Linked DNA regions of Homo sapiens: regions 1, 2 and 3 are each linked to region 4. The links are contacts of gene promoters, found by promoter capture Hi-C in blood cells and fetal thymus (Javierre and others, 2016). All regions are on one chromosome and are shown on one strand. Each heading gives the region's core, a stretch centred on a gene start or on the middle of the fragment in contact. The rest is flanking DNA. Distances are from core to core; before and after follow the strand shown.

Region 1 (3,357 bases), core at 593-3,092, 630 kb before region 4:
ATGTGCTGAGGTGTTTAAGAGGTAGTCAATTCTTTATTATAAATTAATTTTTCCTTTATAATTTGAAATCAGAATTTTAAACATTCAGAGGTTCTAAACCAGTAACTCTTAGTTTAAGCAAGGTACCTTTTAAGAGCCCTGAAAAACCTAGTTATGTGTTAAACTCTATCTTAGAAATCTTGAAAAGCATAGGATATTGTTTTTAAAAGTGGACATGTGGAGTATATGTTTTACTATCTAACGCTCAGAGTTTTGAACTGTGTGAATGCTTTGCCATATTTTGATCAATATGTATTTATATAACAGCAATGCTGCATGTATCCCTATTGTGTGTTGTCTACTGAAAATGAATGGCCCTAAAATTACAGGAGGTCACATACTTTTTTTTTTTGTCATTTGTGCTGCCTTCTTATTTGGTGATGTCATATACAAACACAAAGTACAGTAAATACACACACACATTTGCTTTCATAAACTGATTAATCAATGTGCAAAAATTGCTAAAGGCATCGCTTTCTGCTCTACTGGAACCCCAAGGAGCCCAGCAGACGCGGATCCAGTTCTGTTCGCTAGGATGTCGGGCTTCGAATTCACTGTCTGAGTCTCACCAATAGGGGTCTCCAGTGTACCACAGAACTATTTACACCACTCCATTATGATTATTTACAGTATGCTGTACATGAAGACAGAAGCAAAGGGGCAGAACAGATTTATATGGGCTGGGGCTGATACTGGATTTATTCAAGGAGTGAAAGGGTGACGTCACAAGTTACAAGTGATGAGGAGAAGCAAAGACACATCTAGGTTTGGTGTGAGAACACCCTTGACCTAATGGTGTGGACATGATCTGCCTGATCTGACTGTGCCCCAAAGAGAAAAAAGAATATCCAGGCAGCTACAGTGGTATTTCCTGATATTTAAATATGTGTCTTTGTTTGGATGAAACAGCTAGAGGAATGAATGATTTTTTTCTGTCCTCATTGGAATCTTTTGGGAATGGGCTGAAACTCTAAATATCAACCATGAAGCTGCTTCATGGTAGTTTTTATGAAGTTATTTATTTTTTGTGAGACTGTAGGTATTGAAACTGTCTCCCCCTGCCATCTCAGATAAAGAAGGTAAGAGCAATTACCCTCCAAAAAGAGAAATTACAATTGATCATAATTGAATATAAAGTTTAGGTCACATTTAGAAATACCAATACTGATTCACAATATATAAAGCATGTCATAACATTCTTTGTTTTTATGCATCATGGAATTCCTTTATGCCATCCATTCTAGAAAAAAATTACATTTTAAAAGCCTTGACTAACAGGACATTTCTGGAGTTTTAGGTAGATCTATTTGTGTAGAATAGGCAACAGATATTCAAAATGCCTTTCTCATCATTCATTTATTTATTCAACAAACATTTATTTAGGCCATGCTTCGTGAAGTCACTCAGTGCCTAAAGGAAAATAGCTCTCTTCAGAGAGTGCAGTCTAGTAAATGATAAATAAAAAAGAAATTCTAATAGAAAACAGATTGGGCTAAGAGTTAGCACTGAGGCAAAAACAAGGTACTGTGAAAGGAAGCCAATTAAACAACTAATTCTAAGAGAGGAGGTTGAATGTGGTCAGAAAAATGAGTTGGCTTTTGAGATGCGTTGTGAAGTTTAGGATTGTGATGAGCTATGCTGGAGAGAAGAGCATTCCATGTGTGAAGAGTTGGAGGCTGTTCATGGAATGAGAAGTTATGTACAGAAACTGTGGAAGCTTTGTAAGATGTGTTGGCTTGTTCTGCCTGAGAAAGGAGGATAGGGGAAGCTACAGAGGATGGAGACTGCGTTGGTGAAGGTGAGATAAATTTAGAGGTCAGGGTTGTGAGAGGATAGAAAGAAACCCAGGCAAATATAGAATATGTATTAATTTTTAGAAATCAAAGTCAGGAAGCTTAGGAGGATTGTCAAGATGACCCCACTGGGAGAGAGCCCATGGCTGTGTAAAGGCTTATTCAGTAAACTCCACATGACCAGCACCATTATGGTTGATTTTATTTTTCCGCATTTAGGTGTAGTTAATTTGCTCTTCTCAGGTTTAGAAACAGGACACTGATGGTAATCCATCTATGTCACCCTAACTAGCAGGATGACTTGGAGTTAGTCCCTTCTGTCTTCCCCAGATTAGTTTCTTATCCATAAGATGAGAGATTGTATTAAGCTTATAGCTGAGGTCTCCACCAGCTCTTAAGGATCTTGTGGATCAAAGTGAGGCTGAAGTCACATTTAGGCATATCCCATGGGACAAAGGAGTTCAGAAGAGGTGCATATTTTAAAAGGAAATACCACGATGGACACAAGAAATTCTATTTCATGGTTTATGTGAGACAGATAAAAGCTACCGAGCAACAAATTTGACTAAATGAATACCAAAAGGGCTGAAGGTCAGAAAACAATACTTGCAAGACATGAAAACAAGACTAAAGTATCAGAGATGAATACTGTGGAAGATTCTAAACTCCCAGGGAATAGTTGAGTAAATACAACGAAACTGCACGTGAGCAAAACTCTGATTTCATATACAACTTCCTATCAGCGAGGCTTTTGATTCAGTCAAAATTAAGTTGCTAACACAGGGAAACAAATGAGGGTAGAGTGATTAATTCTGACTTAAGGAATCACAGAAGGTTTCCAGGAAGGGATAACAGTTGATTCCTACCACTAATAATGAATTGTGATTTTATAGGTGGAGAGTGGAGGGAAGTGCACTTTGAGTTAAAGGGCCAGCATGATCCAAAGATAATCAGAACCATGGAGACCCCTTGGTACTGGCAAGTTACATTGAGAAGCAGAGGAAAGCTGCTTGGGTGGATAGATAACAAAGGAGAAGATTTTCCTAACTCAGTATTGGCTAGGCAAATAGATGCCAGCTATCCATCTGTAACATCTATGATATTCTTGGGCACTTAGATGATGAAAGACACCAGGACAGTGGGAGGAAATGACAAGCAGAATTTGAAATCTAATAACCTTTCAAGTTGTAAAAATGGCTAGTAAGAATTGGAACAATCTTTAATAGGGATATAATGTGTGTGAAGTGCATGGGAAAAGAAATCTCAAATGAAATTTAGAAAATGATTCACTATGCACATGAAACAGGAAATTATCTGACGTTATAAAGTTGAACACGAATCAATAATAAAATTATAACACTGTTCCAAGGGCCATATTCTGTGGCCCCAGAACCTACGGGTGAGAGAGGTTTGAAAGAAGACTCTTCAGCTACACCAGTCCCCAAATTCTTTAGCTTCAGATACAATATAGACACATCACTTGCCTATTTCCACTCTTTGGTAAACATTGTCATGGAAAAATACA
Region 2 (2,998 bases), core at 276-2,775, 630 kb after region 4:
TAGTTTAAAATTACAATTACTCAGAATGTTTAAGAAATCTATGAACATGTTTAAAAAATCTTCTGAACATCAAAACTAAGAGAAGGCATCAGTCTACAGTGCAGTCTTAGAAAACAACTGATGGATTGCTTAAAATTGGAAAGACAGCCTAGAAGTGCCACAATATCAAGGCATAGGACTTCCTAGTAGTTTTACCCAGCTCAGAAGGCAAAGTCTAGATGGATTTCCTGCCAATCCCCAAAACTACCTAGGGCTGTGGATGCAGCAGTTTGAAACATGTGTCAATGCTAAATACTTGTCCAACTGGCTTGAAATAAAGGGAGGGCTGGGGGTGGGGATGGTTGAAGGGGGCAGAGAAATGGCATATGCTTTTCTCAAGGCAGGGCCTCTGTCCCCCAGCACTCGAAGAATTACTGAACAAATGTGTTAAGTGGGAAGGAAATGGATGGGTAAAAGCTAACTTCATCTCAGCACAAAAGAAGTTGTCCTTCCATGCTTACATTTTCAAAATGCAAAAATCCAAAAAGCATCGATATTGGAAAATTCTTGGGAAACTGAAAAGCTTAACCATATTCCATAATTTTATTAATTTAAGACCTTCCAAGCAGGGAGGTCAAACTTAACTCTGCTTCCAGCTTACAAAGCACGTCAACTTATTTTGTATGTATAGCTATAAACTGTTTGCAAGTTTCCTCAGTCAGGTACTCGGGATGAATTATGAATGGAATTAGCCAGCCTGACTTGGAATTTCCTCACTTTTACTGGTCTTTAAACAAGATTTTTATACATTCATATGTAATCGATGGAACCAACACATGAAATGGCCCTTCACATAAAACACTCTCTTTTAAAGTGATTTTGCAGTTAAGGAAACCTAAATATGAACTTCTGATGTGGAAAAGGTAGTTTTTATATGCTATTTAGAAACTGATCTGAAAAACTGATGAGCTGACCACAAGATTTCTGTCAGAAACTGAAATTAGGATTATATTTTAAAATACAATTGTAAATGCTTGCTTTCTTTTATAAAACCAATCTGCTTCTCATATTCCTAGCCTTAGTCACACTGAAAATACATAAATTTGGTATTTGGTTATTGAGTTTTGAAGTTGCAAGGCAGGATAATTTAGATATTCATAAATACAGAGCATAAGAAAATCCTTCCTGAGTGCAAAACTATCTTTAAAATAATCATCCAAAGGAGTGAATGCCACACCTCCTGATTTAATTTTGGCTATTAGCTATTCATTCCTTAATATACATTCTTCCACATAAAACTTGCACTGTCTTAAAACTTGCCTACAAACTGGCATGTCCAAATTGTGTGCATAAAAAATAAGATGAAGATCGATGCCAAGTTTTCAAGAAAGAAATGAATTTGGATTGTTTATTACACCAACAAGACACATGTTCAAATTTATCCCCTGTATATAAAAAGATTAGTATAAAATATTTCTCAATTGTTTATGCAGAAAGTAGTAGGGAACAAATTCCAATAATTTTTATCACATAGCTGATATAGCTAAATATTTGGAACCTTTAAAAGAAAAGTGCTAATTAAAATACATATAAATTTTTCAAAGTTTAAAAAGCAGTTGGAAAAATACTTCTACCACTTAGAACACAATTACCTGCACAGCTTAATAGTCTTATGGATTTCAGTAGTAAAATATGTTTAGAAACATCTTGTCTTTTCCATTCCCTCAAACACACAGTGGGCTGAGAATATAACTCTTCATAATATATTAAAAAGTATCCACCATCTTGAGAAAACTATATATTATGGTAATAATTTTTACATCTGATTATGCCATTTTTAGACTATGGAATATAGTTTCTGAATTCTTTTGGGGGGAGGGAAATGGTGTGGAAAAACTACTTTTAAAACGTGCTTCTATCTTCATTTAAAATGTATAAATTCTCAAGTTTCTTAACAAAAAACTTTGATCCCACTATTTTATATAGACTGCATTTATAGGCTTGGAAATCCTGTTCTCTCTATTAAACTCCTTAGACAGGATTATATTAATCTTACTTAAAAGAAAAAACTACTTACAGCAAACATGGCACTCAAAAGAATTAAAAATAATACTTGCAATATTTTAATATTTATGAAAATCTGTTTTTTGAAAGACAGATGAACTTAGAAATGTGAACACACAAAAAAATACAAGTATAAAGTTTCCTTTCGAAACTTTTCCTTTCAAAGAAATATTTATCCCACATTTCTACATGCAAAACTTTTAGTGTAAACTATTGAGAAAATCCTAAATAGTAAAACATTTGTTTCTGTAAGTCCATAAGCACTTGCTGTACATACTCAGAGGCAGCCCTGGCCCACTGTATCCGCAAATGCATCTGCAGGGGGAATGGTTCCAAGCCAGTCACTGAGTGTCATCTGTCCCTTCTCCAGGGGCAGGGACATTGAGTCACAATGAAATTTTATTATTTATATACATTATTTTAAATTCTGTTTTTCTTAGAGCTCAAAGCTTTGACAGTAAATGTCAAACCACACTGAAGTTGACTTGTTAGCTTTTGTAGCTAGCCTTACTGCTGTCGGCTATTTCAAATTGCAAATGACAATAAACAGGTGGTTTTTTCTTTTAATCACTAAAGAACATCCCTTTTCATATAGCTAATATAACAAAAAAGTCTAAAACATGGGCATATAATTCCCACTGTAAATTAATTATAATTATTTCAGGCTTAAGTATTAATAGTAAGTGAATTCTTTTCAAGAGATCCTTGGCGGTTCCATTTGCCCTTGAACATTAACCCTGCCACCTCAAAACTCAATGCCTTTGCACTTAGTCTAGAAAATTAAAAATACAACTCGTCCTCATCCTAGTAACCTGCGCAAGTCTCTACAAGAGACTGGAGGATCTACGTGGTAACTAACTTTAACTTACCTCTTCTAGGCTTTATTAACGAGTTTATCAAAAAATATTAACTTTCAGGCAAGATGTGGCTAATTCTTAAATGCAGCTTAAAACTT
Region 3 (3,133 bases), core at 147-2,646, 620 kb before region 4:
ATGTACAATGAAGACCAGGCTGAGGTGGTCTCAGATGGAGATGAGAAACTTGTTGGGAACTGGAGCAAAGGTCGTTCTTGCTATGCTTTAACGAAGAGACTGGTGGCATTTGTCCCCTGCCCTAGAGATCTGTGGAACTTTGAACTTGAGAGAGATGATTTGGGTGTCTGGCAGAAGAAATTTCTAAGTGGCATAGTGTTCAAGAGGAAGCAGAGCATAAAAGTTTGGAATATTTGCAGCCTGATGATGTGATAGAAGAGAAAAACCCATTTTCTAGGGAGAAATTCAAGCCTGCTGCAGAAATTTGCATAAGTAATGAGGAGCTGAATGTTAATCACCAAGACAATGGGGAAAATGTTTCCAGGGCATGTCAGAGACCTTTGTGGCAGCCCCTCCCATCAGAGACCCAGAGGCCTAGGAGGGAAAAATGGTTTCATGGGCCTGGCCCCGGGCCACCCCCATCCCTGATCCAACTTGCAGCCTTGGTACATGGTGCCCAACATGCCAGCTGATTCAGCTCTAGCCTTGGCTAAAAAGGGCCAAGGTACAGGTTCAGAGGGTGCAAGTCCAAGCCTAGGGGTTTCCCCATGGTGTTGACCCTGTGGGTGCACAGAAGTCAAGAACTGAGCTTTGGGAACCTCTGCCTAGATTTCAGAGGATGTATGGAAATACCTGGATGTCCAGGCAGAAGTCTGCTGCAGGGATGGAGCCCTCATGGAGAACCTCTGCTAGGGCAGTGCAGAAGGGAAATATGGGGTTGGACCCCCACACCGAGTCCCTTCTGGGGCACTGCCTAGTGGAGCTGTGAGAAGAGGGCCACCATCCTCTAGACTCCAGAATGGCAGATCCGCTGACAGCTTGCAACATGAACCTGGAAAAGCCACAGACACTCAATGCCAGTTGTGAAAACAGCAGGGAGGAGGACTGTACCCTGCAAAGCCACAGGGGTGGAGCTGCCCAAGGCCATGGGAGCCCACCTCTTGCATCAGTGTGACTTAGATGTGAGACATGGAGTCAAGGGAGATCATTTTGGAACTTTAAGGTTTAATAATGGCCCTACTGGATTTCAAACTTGCATGGGGCCTGTAGTTTGTTTTGGCTGGTTTCTCTCATTTGGAATGGATGTATTTCCCCAATGCTTGTAACTCTGTTGTATCTGGGAAGTAACAAACTTGCTTTTGATTTTACAGGTTTGTAGGTGGAAGGGACTTTCCAGTCTCAGATGAGACTTTGGACTTGGACTTTTGGGTTTATGCTGGAATAAGACTTTGGGGGACTGTTGGAAGGGCATGACTGTGTTTTAAAATATGAGGACATGAGATTTGGTAGGGTCCTGGGGTGGAATGATATGTTTTGGCTCTGTGTCCCCACTCAAATCTCACCTTGAATTGTAATCCTCATTATCCCCGCGGTTCAAGGGCAGCACCAGGTGGAGGTAATTGAATCATGGGGGCAGTTTCCCCCATGCTATTGTCATGATAATGAGTGAGTCTCACGAGATCTGATGGTTTTATAAGTGTCTGGCATTTCCCCTGCTGGCACTCATTTTGTCTCCGGCTGCCATGTGAAGAGGTACTTTCTGCCATGATTGTAAATTTCCTGAGGCCTCCCCAGCAATGCAGATCTGTGAGTCAATTAAACTTCTTTTCTTTATAAATTACTAGGACAGGTGCAGTGGCTCATGCCTGTAATCCTAGCACTTTGGGAGGCGAGGTGGGTGGATCACCTGAGGTCAGGAGTTCAAGACCAACCTGGCCAACATGGTGAAATCCCATCTCTACGAAAAACATAAAAAATTAGCCGGGCATGGTGGCAGGTGCCTGTAATCCCAGCTACTCGGGAGGCTGAGGCAGGAGAATCACTGAAATTTGAGGCGGAGTTTACAGTGAGCCAAGATCGTGCCACTGCACTCCAGCCTGGGCAACAAGAGTGAAACTCCATTTCAAAAAAAAAAAAAAAAAACAACCCAGTCTCAGATATTTCTTCATAGCAGCATGAGAACAGACTAATACACCAAGTTAGGATCCCATAGAGCACAGATGTATCCGAAGTCCTCAATATGATGTAAGCATAAAAGTGCTACCTGTGCTACTATAATCCAATTACCTGGTACAGTGTGCAGAGTGTAATCAGAGTGCCTGGCAAGAAGGAAAGGCCTTTATTGGACTTGCCTTGCTATCTTAACCCCATTTCAATGGTAGAAATGTCTCACTGTTGCGGGAAGTCAGGGACCCCAAACGGAGGGACCAGCGGAAGTTGTGGCAGAAGAATGTGGATTGTGAAGATTTCATGGACATTTATTAGTTCCCCAAATTAATACTTTTATGATTTCTTATGCCTGTCTTTAACTGCAATCTCTAAACACAAATTGTGAAGATTTCATGGACACTTATCACTTCCCCAATCAATACCCTTGTGATTTCCTATGTCTGTCTTTACTTTAATCTCTTAATACTGTCATCTCATAAGCGGAGGAAGATGTATGTCACCTAAGGACCCTGTGTTGATTGCGTTAACTGCACAAATTGTAAAGCATGTGTGTTTGAACAATATGAAATCTGGGCATCTTGAAAAAAGAACAGGATAACAGCAATGTTCAGGGAACAAGAGAGATAACTTTAAACTCTGACCGCTGGTGAGCCGGGTGGAACAGAGCCATATTTCTCTTCTTTCAAAAGCAAATGGGAGAAATATCGCTGAATTCTTTTTCTTAGCAAGGAACATCCCTGAGAAAGAGAATGCGCCCCTGAGGGTGGGCCTCTAAAATGGCCCCCTTGGGTGTGGCCATCTCCTGTGGTCGAGACTGTAGGGATGAAATAAGCCCCAGTCTCCCATAGTGCTCCCAGGCTTATTAGGACGAGGAAATTCCCACCTAATAAATTTTGGTCAGACCGGTTGCTCTCAAACCCTGTCTCCTGATAAGATGTTATCAATGACAGTGGTGCCCGAAACTTCATTAGCAATTTTAATTTCGCTCTGGTCCTGTGGTCCTGTGATCTTGCCCTGCCTCCATTTGCCTTGTGATATGCTATTACCTTGTGAAGCACGTGATCTCCGTGACCCACACCCTATTCATACACTCCCTCCCCTTTTGAAAATCACTAATAAAAACTTGCTGGTTTTATGGCTCAGG
Region 4 (3,402 bases), core at 690-3,189:
AAAAATATCTACACTTCATAGAATTGTTGTATAAATTAAATGAAATTATGTATCATTTGGCACAGTGTCCGACACATAGTAGTAACTGCTTAATTGTAGCCATTATTATTACCAGAAAACACATGTATTTATATGAAACACATTTCTAACTTCTTATAAAGAAAGCACCTATTTCATAATTCTAAAATTGGAAAATTATATTAGTTTGTATTTTTACAAAAATAGATTGCTCTCATTTTCTCTAGTATAAGAAATAGAGCAAAAAATTCTGTAGACTCTGCCATTAAATAACCTTGTAGGTCTTTGAAGGAAACAGCAAAGGAAGTTCTATGTTTATCAAATTCCAAAGTTAAGTATAAGCTATTTAATCACCATCAACAGTACCTCCATAACATATTATACTATACAATTGAAGAGTAAAGGTGATTTATTCTAGAATTCTAACTTTCAAATGTCCTAACTGAAAAGACAATTCTGAAATAGCCCAAGCCACATTTATTGCTCCTCAAAAAGAATTTTAATGAAAAGTACACCTCTATTATATATTAAGCACTCTTAATATATAATGATTAGTGCTTGCTTTCATGGTAAGTCAATTTTCATCTGAACTAAATACCACCAAAAAATTACTATTTGATTATAAATGTTTCTATGTGAAGTCATATATTTTTAATAGCCATATAACTTCTCCTTTTCTTGTATTTTCTTGTTTATATAACATATAAACACTATATAAGTTTACTAACATCATTACTGAGCTGATCTCAATAGATAACAGACAACCTTAAAATTCTAATTTAAACGCACCACTCCTGTTTAAGAAAATGTGTTAAAAGTCAACTTGGTCTTCTGGGGGCTGCTGAGGAAAAGAAATGAGCATTCCCTGCCAGTTTGAACATATTCCTGAAACCAAGCTTACTCACACCCACCAAACCGCTGTTGAATAGAGTCAATTTTGTCAATGCTGACACCCAGGCCATAAAGAAAGGAGGAAACAGTAGACACCGAGCAACACACACCGGAGGCCAACTGGGAAAAGCAGAACACGGAAAACTCAGTGATTCACGGGTCTTGCTTAGTACTGTGAAAGCACCATCAGCAAAGCTGAGTTGACCAATTTCAACTCTTTCTCAATCCGTAAACTATGAACTGACGGAATTTAGATTTGTTTTTCTCCTCCTACCACGCCTCTGATACAATGCACCTTCGCCCTTCCCCTCCACCCCACAGCCCACCATCCCTGAAATAAGGACAATGGTTGGAGAGTCTCTTCTCTAAGTAGCACGTACTCCACGCCCACACGCTAGAGCCCGGCAGCATGACACTGACAGTTTTCAGTCCCTTCTGGTCTTTCTAACTCTTGGAGCCTCCGCACAACTCAGAAAGAGAAGCGGAGAGAACGCTCAAAGCGGACAGCTGAGCGTAGGAAATGCTAGTTTGGGACCTTCTGACCTCTTTGCCCCACCTGTGTCGAGATAAGCTCGACACAAGTGGGCCAAAGAGCTGGGGCTCAAGCCAGTCACCACCCGGAATCTCCTAGAACCGAGCTGGAGAAACTACCAGCCCTAGAGGGGAAACAAGGGTTTCAAGACTCCAGCGCCACCACTGCCAGTGTGCTGGGAAATCCAGGGAACAAGGCGGCGAGCCTGGGTCTGCGCGGACCACCGCGCAGCCTGACTAGCAGCCGCCGCAGAGCTCTAGGCCACTTGGCAGGAGGCGGGGGCACCAAGGAGAGGCAAGCGGGGAACCCGCAGCTTATTTCCCAGGGGCACAGCTCAGCATGCCTCCCCGCTGCAGAGCCCTCCCAACTGCCCTCGCCTTGAGCGTTCTACCTGCAAGAAGCGGGCGCAGCCCGGCCCGGGCGTCCACCCCCGCCAGTCTCGGCCGCCACCGCCCAGCCTGCCTCCAGAGCAGGCAGCAGCCGCCACTGACAGAGAGACAAGCCGGGCCAACTCCTTCCCATGAAACCCCGCGCTCCAGCCGCTCGCCAATTGGCGCCGCGGTCGGCGCGCGCCGCTCCCCCGTCACGTGACCGTACCCTGGGCGGGTAGTTGTTGGGGCGGGTCGGCCGGGAGGTTAGGATCTTGTGTTTGTGGCCTCCGCAGCCAGCTTAGGCTGCTCGGTGTCGTGTCGCAGTTATGTACTGCCATTTATTATGACTCTTAGAATATAGTTATTTCTTACTCTTCCGCTGCCTCCTTTGCTTTTAAAGCCTGTTCTGCCAAGTCTCGCTGGAGAAGGAAACCCCTGAAACTGGTCCTGGTGGTCTCAGACCGCCGCGCGAGCGAAGAGTGGGGAGGACAAAGGTTGGGGAGTTGAGAAGGATGGAGATGGGTGCATCTGGAAGGGAGTCCGTCCTGAGGAGTCCCCCATCAGCTGTCAGCCAGCCAGCAGCAAAGCAAATTAAGACTACACAGCTCCGAAGAAGCCAGTTCCCAACCAAGCCAGTGGAGAAAAGTCAGCCCGGTCCCCAGGAGTGCTTGAGGCTCTGTCACTCTTGGACGTCAAAAAGGGTCATTTGATGACTGGACGCTTACCTCACCGGTGTGAGGTAAGCTTCAAACGCCGTATCATGTTGCTTTAAAACCTGCGGGTAACAGCATAAGCTGAGTTTTCTATCTTAGAACTCTTAACCCCAAGAACACTCTTCACAGGCCCTGATAGGTGGACCCACAAAAAAACCACTCAGGCTATATTTGACTCGGATTTGAAACGCTGCCGAAACGGTATTAAGTGTCCTCCTCAACTGGAAAAGACAAATAACAAATGATGCCTGAATGAGAAAAAGACTAGACGTGCACACAGTAATGTGTGAGCAGGGAAACTTCAGCGAAGGTTTTTATCATGCTTTACCCCTTTTACATGCTTTACCCCATGTGCAAACATTTTTCATGGGTTTTTTTCTATTTTTTATTTATTTTTATTCTATTTTTTTATTTATACACAAAAAAGTTTCAATGATTTTTTAAAGAGTAATAGTTTTAATATGTTACATTTAAACTTTGACGATGCAAACAGGTTGTCAAGAGAAGCAACTGAGCATTGTTTGGTTGGTAAGAAAATTTATTATACTAGAAGCTACCGCATAATTCACTGTGCAATTTGCTTGCCCTAATTGCCTAAATATTTAGTTACAGTTCTGTACACTTGCAAGGATGAGGGGAAGGGAACTGAAGTTTAGCGTGTCACTGTGGATCAGGCACTTTCCAAATGTAGAAGAAAATGAACAGAAACATTTCACCTGTTTTGATGTGGAAATTTAACCGTTTTGTTTTTCAACCTTTGCTGTTGCAAAGTATTAAAGTCCTGTGCAGTTTTGCAAATATATCTCACCGCAGAAAGATCTCCTTTCCTAAGAAGACTGGGAAGAACGGCTTTCCACTTGCCAGTAATGTGTCCTCT

Evidence for each region. The method cuts DNA at HindIII sites, captures the fragments that hold promoters and counts their contacts. A CHiCAGO score of 5 or more calls a contact.
Region 1: a contact is called between a fragment that was not itself captured here and the fragment with the promoter of LNPK in region 4, in 3 of 17 cell types (M1 macrophages, megakaryocytes and monocytes). The highest score is 9.3, in M1 macrophages.
Region 2: a contact is called between a fragment that was not itself captured here and the fragment with the promoter of LNPK in region 4, in 1 of 17 cell types (fetal thymus). The highest score is 5.1, in fetal thymus.
Region 3: a contact is called between a fragment that was not itself captured here and the fragment with the promoter of LNPK in region 4, in 1 of 17 cell types (monocytes). The highest score is 5.4, in monocytes.

Annotation. Positions count from the first base shown.
Region 1 is chr2:175,366,329-175,369,685 of GRCh38, forward strand. No RefSeq gene overlaps it. Among named protein-coding and RNA genes, the nearest start is that of ATP5MC3, 190 kb to the left of the region's middle. The HindIII fragment of the contact is 177 bases long and covers 1,755-1,931 here.
Region 2 is chr2:176,634,225-176,637,222 of GRCh38, forward strand. The region is part of intron 1 of LINC01116 (long intergenic non-protein coding RNA 1116); the gene reads right to left. Among named protein-coding and RNA genes, the nearest start is that of LINC01116, 1.9 kb to the right of the region's middle. The HindIII fragment of the contact is 1,930 bases long and covers 561-2,490 here.
Region 3 is chr2:175,385,429-175,388,561 of GRCh38, forward strand. No RefSeq gene overlaps it. Among named protein-coding and RNA genes, the nearest start is that of ATP5MC3, 210 kb to the left of the region's middle. The HindIII fragment of the contact is 4,362 bases long and covers 1-3,133 here.
Region 4 is chr2:176,000,328-176,003,729 of GRCh38, forward strand. LNPK (lunapark, ER junction formation factor) reads right to left here and starts at 1,940. Exons shown (of 13, transcript NM_030650.3): 1 at 1,833-1,940. RefSeq lists an enhancer at 2,134-2,353. The HindIII fragment of the contact is 1,642 bases long and covers 913-2,554 here.